Linked DNA regions of Homo sapiens: regions 2, 3, 4, 5 and 6 are each linked to region 1. The links are contacts of gene promoters, found by promoter capture Hi-C in blood cells and fetal thymus (Javierre and others, 2016). All regions are on one chromosome and are shown on one strand. Each heading gives the region's core, a stretch centred on a gene start or on the middle of the fragment in contact. The rest is flanking DNA. Distances are from core to core; before and after follow the strand shown. Region 1 holds the start of CXCL8 (C-X-C motif chemokine ligand 8). Region 2 overlaps RASSF6 (Ras association domain family member 6). Region 3 has its middle 45 kb from the start of PF4. Region 4 has its middle 52 kb from the start of CXCL1. Region 5 has its middle 31 kb from the start of CXCL1. Region 6 holds the start of CXCL1 (C-X-C motif chemokine ligand 1).

Region 1 (4,387 bases), core at 1,822-4,321:
TGGGACTACAGGCGCCCGCCACCGCTCCCGGCTAATTTTTTATATTTTCAGTAGAGACGGGGTTTCACCGTGTTAGCTAAGATGGTTTGGATCTCCTGAACTCGTGATCCGCCCGCCTCGGACTCCCAAAGTGCTGGGATTACAGGCTTGAGCCACCGCGCCCGGCCGTCTTTGTTCTTTCTTGAACTCTTCCTTTTCTTGGGTGATAGACTTCGTCAACGTCTAATGAGGATATCTAGGTGCTAGTCTCTGCTCATCAAATGATTCTTATGGCTCAGGAGCCGAATGGGACGTAAATAAACAGTTAAGTCTCATGAACTCACTTTGCATTCATCTCTAGAAGATGACAAAACATTTGTATTTATGTGTAGCGTGGCACTTTAGTTAAACTTTGTACCCCACTTTGCTCTATTTTAAAGCAGAATATCCTTAAAAAGGATACTTAGTCCTGCTTTTTTTTTTCCGCCTAAGCCCATTTAGTCCTTCTACTCATTATGCAAGGACTCAAATGGTTATCTTTACAGAAGTGAGACAAGATAGAATCAATGCTCTTGTAGTCACTTCATCTTTGTCCATTCCCACTTCTGATGGAGAGGGTTCTAGGACATAATGCACTGAAGGTTACATTGTGAGAGATGAACAACATTTGCAAAAGAGGTCTTTTTGCCTTGGAAAGGCTTCATTCTTAAAAAAAAATGTGAGCATCAAGGTTAAGTAGACCTCATTAGCTCAAACTTTAAGGATGATATCAGGATAAAGTTGGGCCCATGAGAAGAGAATGAGAGGGAGATATAGTGACATGAAAATAAGGAGGAAAACGAGGTGTCTATGTAAGTTGGGCTCACCATAAATACAAAGGCAACCGTTAGGGAAAAGCAAAGAAGTCTTTGCACATCCTCAGAACTCTGAATGTCTTAGTGATGCTGTATGAGTGAGTCTTAATGATAGTGAACTGAATCAGTCAAGCCAGGTTGTGTCCATATGAGAATGTGTCTTTGCTAAACATGCCAACATCACTGAAGCAAAGAAACTTGGAGTTTTCTTTAAGATATAGGTCTTTTTTACCTATCCGGCCCAAGCTTTCTCTTCTTGTCACTCCATGCACTGTGTTCCGTATGCTAAATAGTTTGAGAAACCCAAATGGGCCATGTTCGCCTACATTTCATTGTCCTGTACTTCCTGTCCTGTACTAGCAAAGCAGTCCCATTGGTCTTTCTTCTCCTCATTAACAATAAAGGTAACACTTTTGATGTTGTTTCTTCAGAAAACCTTCATTCATCAAAACTGCCTCAAAGATCATGTTTGTTTGATTCCAGAACTTCCTGTAATTACCTGTTATTGTAACACTCATCACTGTATTTTACTTACTTGTGTAACTAATTTTCCATATTCTGCACTAGACAACAAAGTCCTTTAAGTCAGGTACTATATCTATTTACATAGCATTCACATCTCCTACAATAAGGGACATTAGCAGATAAACAACACATATTAAATGAATAATGAAGTTTCTGAAATACTACAGTTGAAAACTATAGGAGCTACATTATATAGAATAAACATTTACTTTGCTATAGAATTCAGTGTAACCCAGGCATTATTTTATCCTCAAGTCTTAGGTTGGTTGGAGAAAGATAACAAAAAGAAACATGATTGTGCAGAAACAGACAAACCTTTTTGGAAAGCATTTGAAAATGGCATTCCCCCTCCACAGTGTGTTCACAGTGTGGGCAAATTCACTGCTCTGTCGTACTTTCTGAAAATGAAGAACTGTTACACCAAGGTGAATTATTTATAAATTATGTACTTGCCCAGAAGCGAACAGACTTTTACTATCATAAGAACCCTTCCTTGGTGCTCTTTATCTACAGAATCCAAGACCTTTCAAGAAAGGTCTTGGATTCTTTTCTTCAGGACACTAGGACATAAAGCCACCTTTTTATGATTTGTTGAAATTTCTCACTCCATCCCTTTTGCTAGTGATCATGGGTCCTCAGAGGTCAGACTTGGTGTCCTTGGATAAAGAGCATGAAGCAACAGTGGCTGAACCAGAGTTGGAACCCAGATGCTCTTTCCACTAAGCATACAACTTTCCATTAGATAACACCTCCCTCCCACCCCAACCAAGCAGCTCCAGTGCACCACTTTCTGGAGCATAAACATACCTTAACTTTACAACTTGAGTGGCCTTGAATACTGTTCCTATCTGGAATGTGCTGTTCTCTTTCATCTTCCTCTATTGAAGCCCTCCTATTCCTCAATGCCTTGCTCCAACTGCCTTTGGAAGATTCTGCTCTTATGCCTCCACTGGAATTAATGTCTTAGTACCACTTGTCTATTCTGCTATATAGTCAGTCCTTACATTGCTTTCTTCTTCTGATAGACCAAACTCTTTAAGGACAAGTACCTAGTCTTATCTATTTCTAGATCCCCCACATTACTCAGAAAGTTACTCCATAAATGTTTGTGGAACTGATTTCTATGTGAAGCACATGTGCCCCTTCACTCTGTTAACATGCATTAGAAAACTAAATCTTTTGAAAAGTTGTAGTATGCCCCCTAAGAGCAGTAACAGTTCCTAGAAACTCTCTAAAATGCTTAGAAAAAGATTTATTTTAAATTACCTCCCCAATAAAATGATTGGCTGGCTTATCTTCACCATCATGATAGCATCTGTAATTAACTGAAAAAAAATAATTATGCCATTAAAAGAAAATCATCCATGATCTTGTTCTAACACCTGCCACTCTAGTACTATATCTGTCACATGGTACTATGATAAAGTTATCTAGAAATAAAAAAGCATACAATTGATAATTCACCAAATTGTGGAGCTTCAGTATTTTAAATGTATATTAAAATTAAATTATTTTAAAGATCAAAGAAAACTTTCGTCATACTCCGTATTTGATAAGGAACAAATAGGAAGTGTGATGACTCAGGTTTGCCCTGAGGGGATGGGCCATCAGTTGCAAATCGTGGAATTTCCTCTGACATAATGAAAAGATGAGGGTGCATAAGTTCTCTAGTAGGGTGATGATATAAAAAGCCACCGGAGCACTCCATAAGGCACAAACTTTCAGAGACAGCAGAGCACACAAGCTTCTAGGACAAGAGCCAGGAAGAAACCACCGGAAGGAACCATCTCACTGTGTGTAAACATGACTTCCAAGCTGGCCGTGGCTCTCTTGGCAGCCTTCCTGATTTCTGCAGCTCTGTGTGAAGGTAAGCACATCTTTCTGACCTACAGCGTTTTCCTATGTCTAAATGTGATCCTTAGATAGCAAAGCTATTCTTGATGCTTTGGTAACAAACATCCTTTTTATTCAGAAACAGAATATAATCTTAGCAGTCAATTAATGTTAAATTGAAGATTTAGAAAAAACTATATATAACACTTAGGAAAGTATAAAGTTTGATCAATATAGATATTCTGCTTTTATAATTTATACCATGTAGCATGCATATATTTAACGTAAATAAGTAATTTATAGTATGTCCTATTGAGAACCACGGTTACCTATATTATGTATTAATATTGAGTTGAGCAAGGTAACTCAGACAATTCCACTCCTTGTAGTATTTCATTGACAAGCCTCAGATTTGTCATTAATTCCTGTCTGGTTTAAAGATACCCTGATTATAGACCAGGCATGTATAACTTATTTATATATTTCTGTTAATTCTTTCTGAAGGCAATTTCTATGCTGGAGAGTCTTAGCTTGCCTACTATAAATAACACTGTGGTATCACAGAGGATTATGCAATATTGACCAGATAAAAATACCATGAAGATGTTGATATTGTACAAAAAGAACTCTAACTCTTTATATAGGAAGTCGTTCAATGTTGTCAGTTATGACTGTTTTTTAAAACAAAGAACTAACTGAGGTCAAGGGCTAGGAGAATATTCAGGAATGAGTTCACTAGAAACATGATGCCTTCCATAGTCTCCAAATAATCATATTGGAATTAGAAAGGAAGTAGCTGGCAGAGCTGTGCCTGTTGATAAAATCAATCCTTAATCACTTTTTCCCCCAACAGGTGCAGTTTTGCCAAGGAGTGCTAAAGAACTTAGATGTCAGTGCATAAAGACATACTCCAAACCTTTCCACCCCAAATTTATCAAAGAACTGAGAGTGATTGAGAGTGGACCACACTGCGCCAACACAGAAATTATGTAAGTACTTTAAAAAAGATTAGATATTTTGTTTTAGCAAACTTAAAATTAAGGAAGGTGGAAATATTTAGGAAAGTTCCAGGTGTTAGGATTACAGTAGTAAATGAAACAAAACAAAATAAAAATATTTGTCTACATGACATTTAAATATGGTAGCTTCCACAACTACTATAAATGTTATTTTGGACTTAGACTTTATGCCTGACT
Region 2 (4,138 bases), core at 841-3,340, 160 kb before region 1:
GCAGCTTTCTCCAGCATTTCTCCACTTGCTTCTCTAGCTTTTGCTTTGGGCAGTGGTGGTATAACCTGGAGCCACAGTGCAAGCCGGTCCTGAAGCTCCAATTGCTGCTCTCCATTTCTTCTCTTCAGCTGGGTGCACACTCATACAGAGGACCCTGCTGGGCTGGCCAACTACTGAGCCACTTGCCTGAGCTTTGTCTTGTGCAGTCTCGTCACACAAAGTTATGCTAGGTTCCTGCAAAGTAGGTCCCTCCGGCTCCTAATCCCAACAGTGCCTCGAACAGAACCCGTGACTCCTTCTTTGTGCTTACCCTTTGGCAAAGCCCCAAGTCCCTCTGCATATCTGCCCACCTGCCTCAGCTGGTCCACACCTAGGGGGTTGGCTGTACCAGCTTGTCCAGTATCTGTGGTCCTGCTCTGGCCTGGGCAAGCCAGCAAACTTCTCTCCAGTGGGCTGCAACCACACCTTCTCCAGTGAATTCTGAAACCCTCATTCCTGCCTTTCCTTGTTAGGATTCTTTCCCTCAGCCTTAGGGTACCTTCTCTTTTCATCTTTATTATTATTCTCCTATCATAGCTTAATTATTATTTATATTAAACTTTCCCTGTTTAAATTACTACCTTGTTTCTGTCTTCTGATTGATACAGACTAACACAGTTGTTCACTGTTAAGATACGACTTTTTTCATATACTTAGTGGCCATTTGCATTCTCTCTTCTGTGATTTTTCTTTTCATATCTACCTTTTTTTTCTATGTAAGACTTGGTTCTTCTCTTATACATTTCAGTCTATTGAAGACTAACCTTTTGTCATGTTCATGGCAGGTACATGACACTAGTTTTTTATAAGTATGTTGAATTTTAACTATTACATTTGCCTCATTTAAGTGAGATGAGACTATTTTCTTATTAATATTGACAGGTGAAAGAATAGCGATGCAAGCCTCTGGTTTACTCAGTAAGAGAGACTTCTTAGGCTTGAAAAGGCCATAGCACACTTTCACCTTCAACCAGTTTAGGTTTGGTAATACTGAGAAGTAATGCCTTTGTCTTAAAAATGTTTCATATTTTAATATTGTTAATCTTCCAGTTGGGTTTACTGCATATAATCTCATTCCTTAGTACATGTAATATGATCAATTTACTACAATGCTTATGAGGAATGCAAATGGAATTAGTTTACAGAATGAAAGAATGTTGCATATAATTCCATTTTAATACAGAATTTATAAATAAAATCATAGTTTATACTTATAGCATTTCTTCATTTTTAGTGTTTTTTTTTCAAGTGGGTTAAACAGATCTGTGAGTACCTTGAGAGTTGTCATGTAGAATAAGATGCTAAGAGGGCAGAGTTTGGGATTCCCTATGTAACTTCAGCTACAACAGCCTTGCTTTATCCATTGTATTCATTCAGCAACAAATAGGTATTTGTGGGCCAAGTCTTACTTTAGCCGATGTAATATGTCTATGTGATATAAACATTTTTTTGAAAAATAAATAAAGAAAAAGTTCAATTAACTTAAAAAAGAGCTTAAGAAAAGCTTTGAACTGATGAAAGGTCTTTCATCAGCAGAAGAGAGAGAATAAAAGGGCTGGGGGGAGGTTCAGAAAATTTCAATTAGGATTTCTTAACAGAGTCCATAATTTTTCCTTTCCAAAGGCCAGACAGCTCTGATGTTACAGATAGTCAGAAGTCAACAGGCCATTTAAGATAGTCCTAGATTTTATGAAAATGCCAGAGTTTTCAAGAAGCTACTGTCACTATCAGGTAGATTCCTTGATGGTGTAAGACTGTATTTCTTTTTCATTCCAAGAACTGGCAGCTTCTTTTTTCTGAGTCATTTCTGAATCCATTGATTATGTTTCAGTTCTCTTGAGAGTCCAAGCTAAATGAAGTTTAAACTGCTTATCTGAAGACACCATTTAAATTTGAGTTCATTACATGGTTTACTATAAAAGCTATTTGGCATATGCAGTATTCAAGCTTATTTCAGTTACTGAAACTAAACTCAAACTCATTTTGTCCAACTGTGAACCCTAATTAACCTCATCACTTCAAAAAGAAATGAGCTTTTTTTGACATTCAATTTTCTACGATTCAAGTCTCATATATGTTCGTATAAATGCAAGTACAGAACTTATGCATTCATCAAAGAGTAATATCTCTGAGTTTTTTGAAATGTTTTAGCAATAGAAGCTTGTACTGCTAAACTGTTGTCTCTGTTTTTATTACTAGTTTATTTTGAAGACATTTCAGTATAATCGCCTTTTCTTTATTGAATCTGAAAATGAGAAGAAGAAAGACTATTAAAAATTGGACATATTTTGTGCATTGGACATATTAAAGAACGGAGTATCCAATGTGCATGCTCTTGACTTACTTTGTTACTATTCTTTGAATCTCTCTTTTCTCTTCTTCATTTAATCTTTGAAGAATGGATTCCAAGAGAGAAAAGTGAAAGTTAATGTACTGAGCCACCTAAGAAAGAAGAAGAAGAAAAAAAAAAGAAAGCAGAACAATTATGCAAGAGGTGCTGAGTCAGGAGGGAAGCAAAAAACAGATTCAGGGTGATGGTATTCATACATCACTGCTAATTTCTTCTGCATCTTTATCCATGAGGAAAATGCGAGCATTCTTTTCAGAAGGTCCCTGTAGGAGCCTCTGCAGTAGCGGAATGTCTGTCTTCTTTAGTCGTCTTTGTTCTGCAGTGAAAACAAGAATCAACCACAATCAGAAGTTCATGCTGCAGGAAAAGAAGGAAGATAATTTTCCAATTTATTTTTCGTATTTAACTCACTTTGAAAAAAATAACACCTGCAACAGGAGGCAATTACTCAAAAAAGCAAATTGAAATTAAAACTTAAATGAACTTCTTTCTCTTACTGTATCTCAAGTTTTGATTAATGTCTCAAAGAACTCAGCCTTCCTTTGATTAGAGTGTTCAAACAAATCTCCGGTCTGATAGGCCTTTTATAAAGCAATATGCCTCAATAATTATTTAGGTTTCATTCCACCATTCCTTCATCCATACAACAAATATTTATTGGTTCTTTCCAAGTTGAGTTGATGTAATTCCATCTTTCTGGTTCTTCAGGTCCAAAACCATGTAATTATTTTCAATTCTTCCTTTGTCTCGCTCCACACCCAATTCTTGGCTCATCTTTAAAAATATATTCATGAGGTTTTTGAGATCAATAATATTCTTATTATTCATTCATCTGGGCTTAATCCATTCAGCCATGAAAATGAGATAGAGAAAGAAAATATCTTCCAATCTGGTGTGTTTCCAGAACTTCAAATTTCCAAAAGTTATAATATAAATACTCCTGCTACAAAAGTACTTATAGCTTTCTGTCAAAGTAGTTTCACATCTGGGATTTCATTTTTATCAGAATAAAGCATGAACAAAACATAGTGTCCTTATATTCATCTTATTTCCTCATTCTCTCCTTCACCTTGCTTACTTTCTTCAGAACAGTGAGAACTGTTCTCATTCCCTGAGCTGGACTTATCCCAGGAAAAGAGTCAAGAGAGAGTCTAGAACTCAAAAGCCCAGCCTCCCCACAATTAAAGTGATATTACCCATTCCTGTTCACATAGTGTCAGTGTTTACTGTTCTAATTCCTCTGCCATTTCTGAAGCAGTTGGGAGCCTTGACAACTTAGCTCCTCTCATCCACCCACCAGAATCCTCTTTTGACCTTCAGGTCCAATGTTAACTTGGCTTAGCATCCTCTTGCTTCATGATTCTGCTTTATGGGATGATTATTAAAAATAATGATTAAAAAATTATGATGATGATTATTAAAAATGCATATTCCTAGAGTTGTCCCCTGATCTGGAAGGACTTGGGAATCTGTATTTTAAGTGAACTCTATAGGTAATCTGAAATGAACTACAGTGTGAGATACACTGTAATGGGCTTTGTAGATATAAAGTTAAAACCCACCTATCTCTGTTTTCCAGATTACTGCCCAAACAGGAGCCATATGCTCTCTTCTGACCTAGTTATTATTATCTGCAGTTATGGATATATGCAAAATTTTGACACAAAATATAAAAGAAAATGGGATTTTTATAGGTGAAATTATAAAGAACTACATTTTTTATAATGAAAATAGACATTTTTTTCTTAT
Region 3 (4,247 bases), core at 933-3,432, 200 kb after region 1:
TGTGTTGCCACAAAATGTAATAGCAGTCATTGACTGAAATAAATCATCCTATATGAAATTCACAAACAAGTTCCTAAATGACAAAATTAGGTCATATCTGTGTAGCATCAGCTCATTTTTCCAAAGTTCAAAACAAATAAAATTAATAATCAATTGTTTAGGATTTTACTTATAGATGTTAAGCACTACAATAAGTGGGAATGACTGACACTGAGTTCAAGTTAAGGGTTAAGGTGCAAGGAGTGTGACAGGAAAGGAGAAAGATGAGATTTGGAATGGGTACAGAGAGTACTTCCAGTATCCTGCTAATGTTCATATCTTAAACATGGAAATGGGCATAGTGGTTTATTTTGTTACTCTTCCTAAACCTTTGTCTGTGTGTATATATGTATATAGGCACACATGCAAATAGTATACATATGCATATACATGTTTTATACAATCTTTAATATTAAATATTATTTATATAAAACATCTATTCATGTTTTTATATAGTATATGTTTCTATACAATCTTATACATCTATGACATATTGTGCAACTTAAAAAACTTTTTAAACCTGCTACATTATATTGCAACTTTTGAATGTTCTTTGTCCAAGTATATAAAAGACTTCCCAATAATCTAGCATTATCAAAGTATTTTTAATGCTAGTATGTGTCATTGCTTATTATAGATGTTCATTGACTTCAAAAATCAATCTACACATTTCAGTTTATGCCTTACTCATGCTCCAATGTCAGATACTTTTTTTTGAAGAAGAAGAAGTTACTAGAATAGAATCTTGAAGATAGTGATTTTTTTCCTTCACCATGTAAGAATAATGCCCAAACCCTTGTCTCCTATATTGTTAGTCTGGTAAATTTTGCAAGAACTTCATCTCTGAAAACTACTACTAGAGACTATTACTTTCCCCTCATAATTCCTACTTACATTATTTCTTTTCAGCTACAGCAAGAAGCTTCAAGTATCAACTGGACATTTTTAATGAGTATAGAAAAAAATTTAAAAAATCATATTCCAAATATATTGATATTGCAACTCTTAGCTCTCAGAAGCATCAGCTATGTGAGGTAAGTACAGAAAAATCTGAATGAAGATAAAGACAGCCATATTGCCTAACCCTTAATTTACTATTTCAAATCAATGTAGCTGGCCACAATATTGGATTAAGAATTCAACATTAATAGAAATAGTCATGGAGAAATCACAGAATACCAATTATTTGCCAATATCATAATCAATATGAATTTATTGAGCTGCTACTATGAAATAGTGTTAGGCATAAAAGAGCAAATATCCACTCCTTAAGGTTGTAATTGTAATCAAAACCATAACTACATAAGTATAAAAGAACTGCTTGAGTCCAGCGAAAATTTATCGGTATAATTTGATGTAAGATTTCAGTTGAATGTAATAATTCCATCTGCTAACTAATATTAAAATAAACACCCTAGATTGACTTGAAATAATATTACTACCATCATCTCCCCTTTACCCTTCAGAAAGAGAAGTACAGACCCTTTAATCAGAATTTCAAGTTAAATAAATTTGTTCTGCCTCTATCTGGGCTTCTTTGACACTTGACAAACTGCATGCATGTCCTAGTTTAATTTTAGATATTTCACAGCTTTTGTTTTGCTTAAAGCCAAAAAACATCTCTTTAGACCTGGTTTCTCTTTTATGTAATGTTAAATGGATGAAAGAAAAGGACAAACTTTGTAAGGGCAGATAGCCAAAGAATGTGAGATCTCAGTAGACATTTCTGATTTCAGACCTTGGTAGACTCAGGACTATAGTGTTTCTCAGCCACCACAATCTCAAGAGCAATTTTGTTGTCTTCTCCCTTTTTGTTGAAGAATGAAAGGAGAAACTTATCAAAGTGATGTTTGTCAGTTACAAGCCAATAAGAAAGTAGAATTTAGTTTTCCAGTTTGTTTTATTTGGGAGGAATGGGAAGTGTAGAATGTAATAAATCTGTTGATAAAGATATGAACTGTTTGCCTTTTTATTTCCTGGAGGTGGAACTATGCAATTTTGAAGGATCCAATGACATCTGCAGTTAATAATTATTTAAAATGTGCTGTCATAAAAAAGTCTGTATCTTTTTAAAATCCAAGTTAGTACTAAGCAGGAAATTAATATGCTTTAACTTATGTTTTCATTTTATGTCAATTTGAATGATCATATTTAAGGTATTAATGGAATCTTCCATCTATTGATAGGCTATTAAGGAAATAGAATTCAGAATAAATTAACTTATTGCAGTCAGGAGCAGTATATTCAGCTTCACAGCTCTTAAAACTGAATTACTAAAAATGGAGTATGAACTCAAATTCTGTTTATTATTCTGTTAAATGACCTTGGTTACATTATACTGAATGCATTTTTTCCTTTATCAACATATCAAACCCTTTAAAGCAATAATTAATAGAATTGTAGATACAGTGCCACTTTATACATAGCTTCAAAAATCAGAGTATCTCATTTGCTTTCACGTGGAAGATATCACTGAGTTGTATCAAAAAAAATGCATAAAAGCTCAGCATACAGAGAAAAACCTGAAGGACATTGCAAACAGAAGCATACTCCAAGAGGTAAAGTTTTGAGACAGAAAATGGCATATGAAAGAAAAGTCTCAACATACAATATGATTGAATGACTTTTTAACATTCCACTGATTGCTGACTTCTTGGTCTTTATGTCAAGCAAAAACTCAATGAATCAGAAACACTATTCAGACACTATCTTTTGTTTTGTTTTGTTTTTGAGACAGAGTCACTCTGTCGCCCAGGCTGGGGTGCAATGGAGCAATCTCAGCTCACTGCAAGCTCCGTCTCCCGGTTTCAAGCCATCCTCCTGCCTCAGTCTCCCAAGGGACTACAGGCACCTGCCACCACGCCTGGCTAATTTCTTGTATTTTTAATAGAGGCAGAGTTTCACCATGTTAGCCAGGATCAGACACTATCTTAATCTCTTTGAGTCATTATTCTCTATGCACAAGGTAGAAATGATCAAATTGTGTGTTATCAGTGCTATCATGATGATAATAGAAAATAAGTATACAAACATGAGATAAAAGTGTCTTAAAAAATATTATCTAACTTCACATTAATTTAGGATTTTTTTTAAAAAAAAGACATTTATTCAGCGTCATGATCAGACTATTACATTTAGCAATCAACAGCATGGGTGCAAAAAAAAATCTACATTAAAACCCTTTGTTGGAATGCTTTACACTTTGCACAGAACAGAAACTAAAATAACCTGTTATACAGTTAGTCACAAATACAGTCCTATTTTTGCCCATACACATGAGTATTTGTCTAAAACATGTCTTCTTTGTAGCAGCTAGACCTTGCCACCACTGTGCTTGACTGAGTTCACAAATCTGTTATAACCTGAAGCTTCCCTGTCACTTCTCTGGCTCTCCTCTCCAGCTAAGCTTTGTTCCCTAATTAAAATCTTCTGCCATTGCCATAGCTACTGCTGCTACTGGAACCGCCATAGCCACCTTGGTTTTGTGGTTTGGCCAAGTATTGGCCTCCACCCCCATAGGGGTCAGAGCTTCCACCTCCAAAGTTTCCTCCCTTCATGGGTCCAAAATTTGAAGACTGATTGCTGTAATTGCCAAAATCATTGTAGCTTCCACCACCTCCAAAATTGCTTCCATCATTACCAAATCCACTATAGTCATCCCCACTGCCACCATATCCACTACCACCGTGGCTGCCACCAAAGCTACTATGACCCCTGAAGTTTTCTCCATGACCAAAGTTGTCATTTCCACCGAAACCACCTCCATGACCACCACCAAAGTTTCCAGAACCACTTCGCCTCTTTGGCTAGAGGAAGCACTAGCCACCTCTTGCTTTGACAGGGCTTTCCTAGCTTCACAGCTGTGGCCATTCACAGTGTGGTATTTCTGAATGACAGTCTTATCCACGGAGTCATGGTCGTCAAAGGTTACAAAGGCAAAGCCTCTTTTCTTGCCACTGCCTCAGTCAGTCATGATTTCAATCACTTCAATTTTCTCATACTGTTCAAAATAATCTCTTAGGTGATGTTCTTCAGTGTCTTCTTTAATGCCACCAACAAATATCTTTTTCACAGATAAGTGGGCACCTGGTCTTTGAGAATCTTCCCTTAGACAGCTCTCTTTGGTTTTATAACTCTTCCATCCTCCTTGCATGGCCTTGCATTCATGGCTGCATCCACCTCCTCCATAGTGGCATATGTGACGAACC
Region 4 (4,572 bases), core at 675-3,174, 180 kb after region 1:
AAAAATATTTAAAACATTAGGATTTATATCCTCTAATACTTATCTTTTATAAGTACTATGTAAGACATTAATAAATGCACAGAAGAAATTGATGATTCAGAGCGAGAGAAATGAGACAGCTACTTCAAGTTTACTTGCAGGAGGCGATTGATTTTGGGAGGCTTTAAAAATAAAGGTAGAATGTTTTATAAGGTTTTTCCTAAACTGGTAAATACCTGAACTTAAATTTAAGATAAAAATTTTATCTCCAATTCTAATAAATTTCATTTCTCAATTTCTTTTGGATCCAACCTGACCACTCCAGCTCTGTTTTCTCTATCTATGTATCTGTTGCCTAAAATATTATTATAGGCCAACTTAAAAGTCATCCTCAACTCTTCTCTTTCTCCCACACTCTACATCCAATCCAACAAAAAATCTTGTTGGTTCTACCTTCATAACCACTTTCACTGCTACCCCCCTGGGTTGAGCCACCATCTTCAGTCACCTGAATCATTGCAAAAGGCTCCTAACTGGTATCTTTAAGCTCTTCTATGTCTATTCTTAACACACTTGCCAGTGCAATCTTTACAAAATGTAAGTCAAACTATGATTCTGCTCTGTTCAAAATCCCCCATTGGTTCTCCTCTCACTCTGAGTTAACATCCAAATCCTTAGAGATGGGTCACAGGCCTTACCTCCCGAGGCTCCCTATTCCCTCCTTGATAGCATTTTCAACAGTGTTGTTTCCCTTGCTCACTCACCCCAGCCACCATGGGCTCTTTACTGTTCCTTAAACCCACAGCAGCTGTGCTTCTATTTTGTGGCTATTTATTTTGCCTGGAATCCCCTTCCACCAGATATCTACTTGGCTAACTTCCTCAGTCTCCTAACCTATTCACTCACATCTCCTCTTCCCCAAGAGGAGCATTCCTTCAAGCTGACTCCTGTTTCTGAGTTTCTGAGCACTCCCTTACCTTCTGGAATAAAAAGCTATTCCAGGCTCGCCTCACATTTTCCCTTCAGTTGCTCTCAAGCCTTCATCGAAGGACTGTATACTTGTATAAATCAGCATATGGACATTCTCGGCTATAAGGGATGACATGGGAAAGAGTAACATGCAGGTGCCCAGCATTCACTACTCTACTGACACCTGCTCAATGCAGTAGCTTCCTGATACAAAGAATCATGATCCAGAATCCCAGACAATCACAATGCCTACAAAAACTCCTTTAAGACTTCATTATGTCCTGAATTCCATTTGTTTTTGTAAGTGCTTTATTAAATTAATTTTAAAATGGGCAGATTCATGTATGTCTTTTTAATTTTGTGTCCTGACTTCCTGGAGTTTTTCTTTTCATATTAGAAGATCCAACTTTGAGTATTTTCTAGCACTTAGTAGATGTTCAATAAATGTTTGATCCGGGATTGATAAGGGCCATCTTTTCAATTTTATCAACAATTCAAATGGAAAATATTGAATCATATAATATGCCAGTGCCTGCAAATAGCAGGCATATTGCAAGAGTAACCAAAGTAAAAGCTGAAAGAGATTTCTACAATCTGCTGGTTCTGAGATATAAATAGCAGAAAAAGTTTTTTGGGTTTACTGGTTTTCAACATTCCCATTGACAACATAATAAAGTGGCAAAAATTTATGGAAAAACATATTTGATGTTACCCTTGTTCAATCCAAGCTTTTGGAAAATTGTAGGAAAACTAAAATATTTCGATATTTATCTGAACTTTTGGTCAATTTTAGGAAAACTAAAATGTTTCAATAATGCCAAATTCAATATTTTTTTATGATTCAGTACTAAGTAAATGAATGTTATAAAATCGTGATTAACTACTAAATTAAAACCACCATGCCAGCTGCTAAATTCTAAGAGAAAGTATAAAATCCAGGAATTATGTTAACAGTATTTGTATTAAATCTATGACTGCCAAAACATCCATGTAGTTTTATGAATGCTAAATAAGTGCCACAAATAAATCAATAATTAGGATGGTTTTAGAAAATAGCTACACTTCTTACTCAAAGAATATATCAAAATTTAGGATTGTAATTAACTCTGGTTGGAGGCAGAGGGACAGAATAGTGGAAAAGCACATAAGATTCAATAATATTGGTAAAAGTCTAGTTCCAATGTTCACGATATGCATGGGTGTTTGTTTTTATTATGCCTTTTATTAAGCTTTATTCTTTACATCTTTGGTAAGTTTCTTTTGCATATATCAATTATTTCATAATCAAATAGTATATTGGCAAATATTTCAGACAAGACTAATCTAGCATATCAAGTCTTGATTTCCTCATCTAAGATAATAGGGATAATAATAGTACTTGTACTATAAAATCAATGTTAAAATTAGATGCAATAATATATAAAAATTATTTAGCAGAGTATCTAGTGTATATGTATATTGGTATGCATGGTATGTATGTGTGTATGTACGTATATAACTAATCACTTTTGGCACTCTTTTTTCAATCTTTAGTCTTTAAAAGTATAATGTAGCTTTTGGCAAGTTTCAAAAGGTCAGGTATAAATACTGCATTTGGATCCACCTTGAAATGTTTCAGTTATAAACAACATTCTTGATGAATGTTTCCATGTCTTAATAACACATTTATCTTGGAAAATAAGCATTAAACATTTTTCTTTAAAATGCATGGAGACCTGCATTCTACATTTAGTGTTACAAATGTTGTCTAAGACCTTGGTCTTGATGGCTAGTTGTAAAAATCCTTGCCATAAATGAATAGGCAATAGAATCTTAATAATTTGTGCTAAATAATGTGCTGGAAATTCTGAGCATAATGAGTCAGAATTGATTATGAATTGTGATTTATCTACACTACAATTAGATTGTCTAATTTTACCTTCTTTTTTTTTTTTTTTTTTTTTTTTTTTTGAGACGGAGTCTCGCTCTGTCGCCCAGGCCGGACTGCGGACTGCAGTGGCGCAATCTCGGCTCACTGCAAGCTCCGCGTCCCGGGTTCACGCCATTCTCCTGCCTCAGCCTCCCGAGTAGCTGGGACTACAGGCGCCCGCCACCGCGCCCGGCTAATTTTTTGTATTTTTAGTAGAGACGGGGTTTCACCTTGTTAGCCAGGATGGTCTCGATCTCCTGATCTCATGATCCACCCGCCTCGGCCTCCCAAAGTGCTGGGATTACAGGCGTGAGCCACCGCGCCCGGCCCTTTACCTTCTTATTTACCAGGCAGAAGCAGAAGAGACTTTTTTGAAGATTACTAAGTTCAACAATTGTGCCATTTCTGCTTCCTTTCCCTGAGACAAATATAAAATTCATAGTAGACAGTGCACAATCAAATCAAGCCTCTCTCATTTACTTTTAAAAATCTATGAACTCACTCAAAAATCATAGTTTTCTATATTTTTTGCTAAGGTATACTCAGAACACCCTACTAAATTCCAGGCTGTGCTGTTTCAAGATAAGTCAGGCTGTCTATCACTTCTGACTACCCTTTCCTTCACAAAAACAAACAGATTTGGAAGATACCATTTAGAGCTGGTATATGAAGCCCAATTCAGAATCAGTTGAGAATATAAGCAGGGATATGTTTAGCTCTTTCCATTGACAAGTAATTATTTTCATTATTCCATTGTATTCTGAATGAAAGCATTGACAATGGCCAAAAGTAGCATTAAGTTTCTTCCATGTGCCAGGAACAGTATTCAGAACCGTACCTGCTATCTCACTTAATTCTCAAAAAACCACAAGAATAAAATATTATTATCTTGAAGTGACTTGTCCAAGCTATACCACAATTAAGTTAAACTAAAATATCAATCTTCTGTACTAATTGTTTTACTATTTATTCAAATATTGTCTATCAGTTGCAGTCAATAGCCAGGCATTTTTTCTAGCATTGTGTTACCCAGCCTTGAAAGAATTTCTCACTGTCTGAAAAGAAATTTTTGTGGTGCCATCTTAAGACTTCAAGGATTCTGAGATAAGAGGAAGGAAGAAGAAATGAATTAATTAGTCATGATTTTGTATAAGACTTTTAATCAGAGGCTTTCCTGACAGGATCTTACATGATTTATAATCTACAGTTTTTCTTTGTATGGCAAGTAGAACAGAAAAAAGAAGACAGTTCTGAAACTGTTTTACAAGTACTCAGGCAAGGTCAAAAACTAAATAATTGTTAATAGAAAAGAGGGAAAAGGTAAAGATCACAGATTTTTCTCAGCCAAGCCTGCATATTACTAGCCTGTGTGCTCATCGAAATACTGAATGTCAAAAGGATTATTTATTACTTTTGTTGAGACTAATCTTGAAGAAAAATGCCTTGATGCATTTATCAGCTTCCTTCCTCATTTCAAATGTAATAAGATTGCTTTTCTCTCTTCTTTTAGCCAAGTGGACAATTGATTATTAAGTGGGCTATGTATACACTGGATTATTATTACCTTAGATTTTTGCTGTATTACCTTCTTTTTGCTGTTTGATTCATTTTCCACAAATGCAGAGCCATGAAGAATATGGATTTGGGGCCACCTTGTGACAGACTTAGAAAAGTCCTATTTATCAAATCCTAGAATTAGAATTTTGGCTTCCATT
Region 5 (4,476 bases), core at 1,689-4,188, 160 kb after region 1:
TTACATTATTTATAATTAATATAATGTCTACACTACATATACTATATTATTTATAATTAATATTATATCAATTATATTTCTAATCAGTAGGCATAATAATATATCAATCATGATTGTTATGATTAATGTAATTAATAATATAATAATACAATTTATAATAAATAATTAGTAATATTATTAACTGTGCTTACTGGACTTTTTTTTATGAGTCAGCTATGTGCCAGGCAATGTGTTAGTGCTAGTGGATAAGTGGCCTCTGTCCATGTGTGCATGGAGCTTCCAATCTAGAGAGGGAGAGAGACACTCCCTAGAGAGTATTGTGAGGATTAAACTTTAAAAGAGAAAAGAGCTGGGTCCTAAGATAGGATGTATCAAGGAAAATTGTTTTGATCTAGAGGGTAGGAGGATGGAATGTTTAAGCTGAGTCCTGAAATACAGTTCTAGCAAGATTTACTACTGGTAGAAATGTTTCAGGGTATATTGGTTGGGATGATGGTTAACAAATAGACTCTAAAGTTCAGTGACTAAACAAGACATAAGTTTATTTCTCTTTCACTTAACAGTCCAGAGTAGGTAGTCAGGTTTTGCTCTGTAAAGTCATCCAGAGTCCCAGGCTACAATGGTGGTTCTGCCATTCTTCACTGCGGCTTCTACAGTAGCTCCATCGCCACTATGTCCAACCAGCAGGAAGGAAAGGAAGATGGACAACTAGGAAGAACTTATTTAAACAGAAGACCTGAAAGTTACACTTACCCAGGAAGGTCAGCTGGGTGTTTAGACATGCCATTGTTGAACTAGCCTGACTTGGTGTTGTCGTCATTCACTAGGATCTGAATTTTGTATTGCTGCACTCTTGTCTGAAACATGTAGGTAATACAGAAATTATGTTCATATATATAAATTTTATATACCCTAAAAGTTAGTTTAGTTCAATAAACACTTAGAACTTGTACTTTTTTCCCCCTTAGAGATAAAAACATGGTTAATACTTTCATTCACTTACTTGTATTCTCATTCATTCAGCAATGTTCATCGAATATCAACAACCTGCACTAAATTTCAGGCACTTTGAGGATGTTCATGAAACACAGCCCTTGATCTCAAGAGATTCAGAGTCTATTGTGGATCGGAGGGGAGCAAACATCACAGTTTAGTGCAAAATAGAGAGAAAGATGTGATATTATCTGCATATAAATAAGTGCTGAAGAAGGTGGGGACTGTTCTCTGCCAAGAGAATGGGGAAAGGTTGTGGGAACAGAGCCATCTGAGAGAACTTGAATATTGATTTTATAAACAAAGAAGAACCTTCCGGTCTGATATGGTTTGGCTGTGTCTCCACCCAAATCTCATCTTGAATCGTAGCTCCCATATTCCTGTGTATCATGGGAGGGACCCAATGAGAGGTAATTGAATCATGGGGGTGGATCTTTCCTGTGCTATTCTCATGATAGTGAATAAGTCTCATGAGATCTGATGGTTTTATAAATGGGAGTTCCCTTGCACACACTCTCTTGCCTGCTGCTATGTAAGATGTGCCTCACTCTTTGCCTTCTGCCATGATTGTGAGGCCTCCACAGTCATGTGGCACTGTAGGTTCATTAAACCTCTTTCCTTTATAAATTATCCAGTCTCAGGTATGTCTTTATTAGCAGCATGAGAATGAACTAATACACAGTCTATGAGAAAAGTCATAAATAGCTCAGTGTGATTGGCTAGTTTAGGGGTGGCAAATAGTCCAGAGTGGGTGAAGTAGCTAATCAATAGATAAATGAAAATAGAATGTTAAAAGAGAGACAAATTGTGAAGAACCTCAAATGTCAAGCAACATATATTTGAATTTGTTTAATAAATAATGGGAAACTAGTGCAGATCCTTAAGAGGGGATAGATGTGACTGGATCTGAGTTTCAGAAAGAGTGCCCTGGAGGCAGCATACACAGTTAAGTGGCAGCTGAACTTATAAGCATAGATGCAGGGTTTCCAGAGTAAATCCTGCCCCTGATGCCTGTGTGATGTTGAGCAATTGGTTTACCCACCCTGTGCCTTAACTTTCTCATCATTAAATAGGAATGATAATGATAGCTATTTCATAGAACTGTTGTGAGCATTAAATTGAGTAATTCATGTCAAGAGTTTAAAATAATGTTTGACATTTAATAGGGATACATAAACGTTTACACACACACACACACACACACACACACACACATATATATATATATATATACCTTGGAGAGAAATGGAAACAAATTAAGAAAACAGAAACATCTAGTTTGAGCTAGGCTAAAAAGGGCAGTGTAGATACAGGAACAAGGGACCTGGAAACAGATTATCTCGTGCCCAATCGCAGATAAATTGTTTCTTAATTGTTCTAACCCTTTTTTTTCTCTGTAAATTAGAAATAATAACAGTGCCTATTTTATAGAATTGTGAGGAATTAAATTACACAATACATGCAAAGTGCTCAGCAAAGAGCCTAGCATCTACTGATCACTCACAAGATGAGAATTTTCATTATCAAAAAGGATTTATTCTAAAAGCTTGAAATTCTATAATTTTTTACCTCTGAATTAGTTTTGTCCTTTATCGCAACATTGATGTAGTACAAAAAACACAGACATTATAACCAGGTAAAACTGATATAAATTTTTATTCTGTCACTTCAAAGCAGTGTAAATTTGGGCATATTTTTTCTAAAATTTAGGAGCACCTGTTTCCTCTTGAGACAATTATAATGCTTCCCACAGTAAAATGTTGCTGTGAAGATTACCTGAAATAATTTGCATAAAGAACCTAGACTGGAACACAGTAAACACGTAATAGAAGTTGAATGCCCCCCTCCTCACACATGCCTTTTTTTTTCTCTAACTCTCTCTCACATCTGCTCTGAGAGATTAAAAAGTCACATGCAACCTCAACCTGGGCATATCTAGTCTAACCAAGACTGATGAGAATCCCATTTTAGTTGCAAGCAGAAGATTGAAAACAGAGAAGCACTGTTGTGAATCATGAGTTGTGGGTTCAGGCCGAGAAGGACAAAACCAAACTAACCCAATCCCTTCACTTGCCAAACCTCTTGCTGTTTGACCCCCGACTAACAGCTAACCAAAATTAGCCACAGACCGCTGATGAGCGTGTGAGCCATTGTGCAACTTTTCCAACTGGATAGAACATGAAAAATTAAGGAGAGAAGGACCATCCAACAGAGAGGCAGTGAGGGCTGAAAATACAAGGGATGATTATAGTAGGCTTGGCAGGGGACAGGATATGCATTAATGTGGAGAGAGGGATTTTCTTTTTTCACATCAAAACACACAGAATTTGACCACCTAAGTGAACAAGCTTTCTTCATATCTGGGAGTCTTGATGACATAGTTTTTAAGAAAACTGGTTTAGGAATAGTGATTGCTGAGTTCAAACCCTGGCTCCACCATTTGTGAGCTGTTATAGCCTTGAGTAAGTCATTTAAAAGTTCCAGCTGGGCGCAGTGGCTCATGCCTGTAATCCCAGCACTTTGGGAGGCCGAGGCGGGTGGATCACCTGTGGTCAGAATTTCAAGACCAGCCTGGTCAACATGGTGAAACCCCATCTCTACTAAAAAATACAAAATTTAGCCGTGCATGATGGAGGGTGCCTGTACTCCCAGCTACTCAGGAGGCTGAGACAGGATAATCGTTTGAACCTGGGAATCGGAGGTTGCAGTGAGCTGAGATTGTGCCACTGCACTCTAGCCCCTGGGCGACAGAGCTAGACTCTCTCAAAAAAAAAGAAAAAATTCTGAGCCACCTTTTCCTTGATAGTTCCCAAATCATTACACTAATGCAATGATTAAGTATTATCATAACCTTTACAAAGCAGATGAAATAGAATCTTGGGACATATTAAATATTTAAAGATATTAGCTATTACAATTGTGATTTAAGTTTTTAGCTGGTCAGCACACTTTAAGGAGAGTTGAGGCAATTGTCTATTACAGATGGTACAGATGACAAATAAGATGAGTCAGGCAAGTAAGATGAGTCTGCTTGACTGATCTCATTTCTTAGATTTATTTAGTGTAGAATTAACCTAAAATTACTTTCTTTAAAATAATTTTTCTACTAGATTTCATTGTCATCCCAAGTTTTTAAAATTCTATTTTCCTGAACTTCTGATACATGACACTTTTCCGTTTCTGGAGAAACTTATCCTATTCACAACTTCTATCAAGTGACTTGCTTCTTAAGTATCTTCAGGCTTGGCTATTGCTCATAGATCTTTTATCTAGCCCTTACCACTCCTCAATGTGGTTTGAATCTTACTGCCTTCCCTTCTGACTCTAATCTAAATAATAACCCTTGAAAAGAAAAGCTCAGTTTCACCTTCTAGCTATACAAGAGCATTCTCTTTACCTAAGTTAGAGGAAGTGCTCTCTTGTTCACTATTTAGCATTTTGTGGCTAGAGACAAACTGGGTTCTCTGAGCCTGCAGAGGTAAA
Region 6 (4,157 bases), core at 1,503-4,002, 130 kb after region 1:
GAAGATGTGAAAAGAGAAATAATTGAAAAAGACTGGAGTACATATACTATCTACAGTGTCTGTTTTAAAGAAACAACATTCTAGCACACCTTTCTACCCTTGACTAAGATTACTGTAATGAGAGCACCAGTACCCCTGAGTAACCGAAAGGGCATTTTGGAAACTGAGCTTTTGGTGTTTATATGAACATTCTGTCTTCCAGGACCTGCCTTGATTTATTCAAGACTCATACTGCTGTATATGGTGTTGTATACATTAGGGGTAGTTGGGTAGCAGTAACTGATATAGAAAATTTTAAATGTAAAAAACACTGGGGAGTGAACCTTTCCATTATATATATATATATATATATATATATATATATATATATAAATATATAAATATATATATAAATTCACATCAGGATGAGTTTCTGTTTAGGCAATGTTGGAAAACGCTATTTCCATTTTTTTTTTAAACAAATATTTAACAAACATTTATAAGGCACTTAAATCCATGCTGGCTCTTACAAATGTTGACTCATTTCTCATAACCACCTTGGGGTAGAAACGGAGAGGCTAAACAATCTGCAGGCGATGCTTCACTACTAAATGCAGGTGGCAGCCTTGCCTGTGTTCTCTGCTTGGCTAGGAACACAGGTCTTACCTATTGAGCTGGGCTGTGTAGAACTCTGTTGTGGAGACATCTGCCCCTGGGGCAGAAGCCTCTGCTTTTTCCCCCTCCTCCCATCTTACTCCATGTCTCAGAGAGCTCTGAATCCCACTTGGAGAATCACACTTAAACCCTCTAAAAACCTAATGATGAATAAAAATAAGTTCTCTAGAACTTCTGGAGAAAAAAGTAATAAAGCTACCAGGTTAAATGACTGAAATTCCTGAGAGAAAACAACATGTGTGTGTTTCTCTAGAAAGGGGGCCCAATACTGAATACCAGGAAGTCCTATAGTAAATGGAATGTGACTCTATGTGGGATCCGGCGTTCCTATTTCATCCGAATGCATGTCTGCTGCTTCAGTGGGAAGGGTGCTTGCACACCAGGTACCCACTCCCTGGTGTCATGTGCTATGCAGTCCAAAGACAGAACCAGGAATGGTGAGCCCATGAGCCTGCTGGACCCAGCCCCTCCGAGGTCCGGAGTGACAACCAGTGCCGTATTTCTAGATCAAACCTGAACCCCTCCTACAGGGAAAAGATTTCCAGGGGATTTTGAAAGTTCCAACATTTTACAGGGAAGAAGGAAGATAAGCAGGATATGAAAGAAGAGTTCATGTTATACAGCCCTGGCTTCCACTGACGCTAACACTGGATTCAGCTTTTGACACTGATAATCTGTTGCCACCAAATGGAAAACGTAAACAAGATATTCTAAGTGTGGTTAGAGAATATGCAACACAAGGAACAAGCAGAACATTCTTCTCTGGAATCTGACATAATGGACTGTACTTTCACAGACAGCACTGATGTTAGATGTACGTGAAATAGGCTAAACTGAAAATAAGAAAGGCTGAGGCAGAGAGGATAATATAGCTCCAGCCTATCTCCCAGCACCTTGTTAATTTCTCTCAATCTCCAGCCACAAATCCGAGACACAACGCTCTTCCTCCAAAGAGGTCGCGCCTTCTCTGTGGTGGTTCTCAGGGATCCGCCCCAGCTCCTTCTCCGTTCCCAGCCCCACACACTGGGATCACCAGGCACCCAAGATCCCACCTCTCAGGTGGTATCTTCAGCGCAGGCTGCCACTCAGCCCCCCTCCAGGGATCTGGGGCAGAAGGCGAATATCCCAGAGTCTCAGAGTCCACAGGAGTTACTCTGAAGGGCGAGGCGCGGGCTGCATCAGTGGACCCCCACACCCCACCCGCACCCCAAGCGCTCCACCCTGGGGGCGGGGCCGTCGCCTTCCTTCCGGACTCGGGATCGATCTGGAACTCCGGGAATTTCCCTGGCCCGGGGGCTCCGGGCTTTCCAGCCCCAACCATGCATAAAAGGGGTTCGCGGATCTCGGAGAGCCACAGAGCCCGGGCCGCAGGCACCTCCTCGCCAGCTCTTCCGCTCCTCTCACAGCCGCCAGACCCGCCTGCTGAGCCCCATGGCCCGCGCTGCTCTCTCCGCCGCCCCCAGCAATCCCCGGCTCCTGCGAGTGGCACTGCTGCTCCTGCTCCTGGTAGCCGCTGGCCGGCGCGCAGCAGGTGGGTACCGGCGCCCTGGGGTCCCCGGGCCGGACGCGGCTGGGGTAGGCACCCAGCGCCGACAGCCTCGCTCAGTCAGTGAGTCTCTTCTTCCCTAGGAGCGTCCGTGGCCACTGAACTGCGCTGCCAGTGCTTGCAGACCCTGCAGGGAATTCACCCCAAGAACATCCAAAGTGTGAACGTGAAGTCCCCCGGACCCCACTGCGCCCAAACCGAAGTCATGTAAGTCCCGCCCCGCGCTGCCTCTGCCACCGCCGGGGTCCCAGACCCTCCTGCTGCCCCAACCCTGTCCCCAGCCCGACCTCCTGCCTCACGAGATTCCCTTCCCTCTGCAGAGCCACACTCAAGAATGGGCGGAAAGCTTGCCTCAATCCTGCATCCCCCATAGTTAAGAAAATCATCGAAAAGATGCTGAACAGGTGAGTTATGGTTTCCATGTACACAGGCGACTGGAGCCGTTGGTCAGAAATACTGGCATGTGCCCCCTAAAAATAAAATCAGGAAAACCCAGGGGTTAGTTGAAGGACTAGAAATTGGGATTATTGTTTTCACAATTAAGGTTTCCTTTACGATAATTACTGCTCTGGTGCCAGAGGATATTCCCAATGCCTGGCGTCCCCACCCTGGTTCTTCCTTCGTTCCAATGAATGTAGGTAAAACTGCCTTCATTTGAGGCCCAGTAGGACAAACAGCAACAGGTTCTGGCTGTTTTTAATCCAATAGTACAGTGGAGACCACCGCCCCACCCCACCCCCATTCCTAAAAGAGCATCCCAAGCTTAGAGGTCCCTGCCACACAGCACAGCTGTCATAGGCAGTAGCCACTTGGTTGCCAGGCTGGGGAAACTGCATTCGGAAAACTCTAGAGGCTGGAGGAGCAGGGCAGGAGAAGAGTGTTGTGCAATCAGCTTTCCCGAGCACCTACTCAGGGCACCCATTTTCTCATTGCAGTGACAAATCCAACTGACCAGAAGGGAGGAGGAAGCTCACTGGTGGCTGTTCCTGAAGGAGGCCCTGCCCTTATAGGAACAGAAGAGGAAAGAGAGACACAGCTGCAGAGGCCACCTGGATTGTGCCTAATGTGTTTGAGCATCGCTTAGGAGAAGTCTTCTATTTATTTATTTATTCATTAGTTTTGAAGATTCTATGTTAATATTTTAGGTGTAAAATAATTAAGGGTATGATTAACTCTACCTGCACACTGTCCTATTATATTCATTCTTTTTGAAATGTCAACCCCAAGTTAGTTCAATCTGGATTCATATTTAATTTGAAGGTAGAATGTTTTCAAATGTTCTCCAGTCATTATGTTAATATTTCTGAGGAGCCTGCAACATGCCAGCCACTGTGATAGAGGCTGGCGGATCCAAGCAAATGGCCAATGAGATCATTGTGAAGGCAGGGGAATGTATGTGCACATCTGTTTTGTAACTGTTTAGATGAATGTCAGTTGTTATTTATTGAAATGATTTCACAGTGTGTGGTCAACATTTCTCATGTTGAAACTTTAAGAACTAAAATGTTCTAAATATCCCTTGGACATTTTATGTCTTTCTTGTAAGGCATACTGCCTTGTTTAATGGTAGTTTTACAGTGTTTCTGGCTTAGAACAAAGGGGCTTAATTATTGATGTTTTCATAGAGAATATAAAAATAAAGCACTTATAGAAAAAACTCGTTTGATTTTTGGGGGGAAACAAGGGCTACCTTTACTGGAAAATCTGGTGATTTATATCAATATTTCTCAATTTTTTAATTGTGTTTATTTTTCTGGGTGTTCAATTTGCTATACAGATAAATCAAACTATGAGTTATGCTTCATTTCATGCGGTGATTGCTGCCAATACCCTTGGCTCTCACCTAGTGAAGAATGCGCTTTACTAAACTATGGGCTGGCCCCTAATGGGAGAGTCACTGATATAAATTGCCCTTTTTATAAGAAGTTTCTTTCTGTCTTGCTACTCAAATTTACCT

The links. Contacts are between HindIII fragments. The CHiCAGO score rates a contact against its expected background, and 5 or more counts as called.
Region 2: a fragment that was not itself captured here is called in contact with the fragment with the promoter of CXCL8 in region 1 in 1 of 17 cell types (megakaryocytes); the score reaches 5.6 in megakaryocytes.
Region 3: a fragment that was not itself captured here is called in contact with the fragment with the promoter of CXCL8 in region 1 in 1 of 17 cell types (neutrophils); the score reaches 5.3 in neutrophils.
Region 4: a fragment that was not itself captured here is called in contact with the fragment with the promoter of CXCL8 in region 1 in 4 of 17 cell types (megakaryocytes, neutrophils, endothelial precursors and 1 more); the score reaches 14.8 in megakaryocytes.
Region 5: a contact is called between a fragment that was not itself captured here and the fragment with the promoter of CXCL8 in region 1, in 4 of 17 cell types (megakaryocytes, neutrophils, M1 macrophages and 1 more). The highest score is 9.8, in megakaryocytes.
Region 6: a contact is called between a fragment that was not itself captured here and the fragment with the promoter of CXCL8 in region 1, in 4 of 17 cell types (neutrophils, megakaryocytes, endothelial precursors and 1 more). The highest score is 15.4, in neutrophils.

Annotation. Positions count from the first base shown.
Region 1 is chr4:73,737,498-73,741,884 of GRCh38, forward strand. CXCL8 (C-X-C motif chemokine ligand 8) reads left to right here and starts at 3,072. Exons shown (of 4, transcript NM_000584.4): 1 at 3,072-3,225; 2 at 4,045-4,180. The coding sequence starts at 3,162. RefSeq lists a silencer at 1,535-1,829. The HindIII fragment of the contact is 2,023 bases long and covers 1,078-3,100 here.
Region 2 is chr4:73,574,027-73,578,164 of GRCh38, forward strand. RASSF6 (Ras association domain family member 6) reads right to left here. Exons shown (of 11, transcript NM_177532.5): 9 at 2,587-2,705; 10 at 2,384-2,481; 11 at 1-2,284. The coding sequence ends at 2,209. Among named protein-coding and RNA genes, the nearest start is that of RASSF6, 44 kb to the right of the region's middle. The HindIII fragment of the contact is 213 bases long and covers 1,985-2,197 here.
Region 3 is chr4:73,935,146-73,939,392 of GRCh38, forward strand. It overlaps the pseudogene HNRNPA1P55. Among named protein-coding and RNA genes, the nearest start is that of PF4, 45 kb to the right of the region's middle. The HindIII fragment of the contact is 2,446 bases long and covers 960-3,405 here.
Region 4 is chr4:73,919,028-73,923,599 of GRCh38, forward strand. No RefSeq gene overlaps it. Among named protein-coding and RNA genes, the nearest start is that of CXCL1, 52 kb to the left of the region's middle. The HindIII fragment of the contact is 501 bases long and covers 1,675-2,175 here.
Region 5 is chr4:73,898,220-73,902,695 of GRCh38, forward strand. No RefSeq gene overlaps it. Among named protein-coding and RNA genes, the nearest start is that of CXCL1, 31 kb to the left of the region's middle. The HindIII fragment of the contact is 802 bases long and covers 2,538-3,339 here.
Region 6 is chr4:73,867,386-73,871,542 of GRCh38, forward strand. It overlaps CXCL1 (C-X-C motif chemokine ligand 1), which reads left to right and starts at 2,008. Exons shown (of 4, transcript NM_001511.4): 1 at 2,008-2,185; 2 at 2,284-2,407; 3 at 2,521-2,604; 4 at 3,136-3,923. The coding sequence starts at 2,086. The coding sequence ends at 3,151. The HindIII fragment of the contact is 416 bases long and covers 2,545-2,960 here.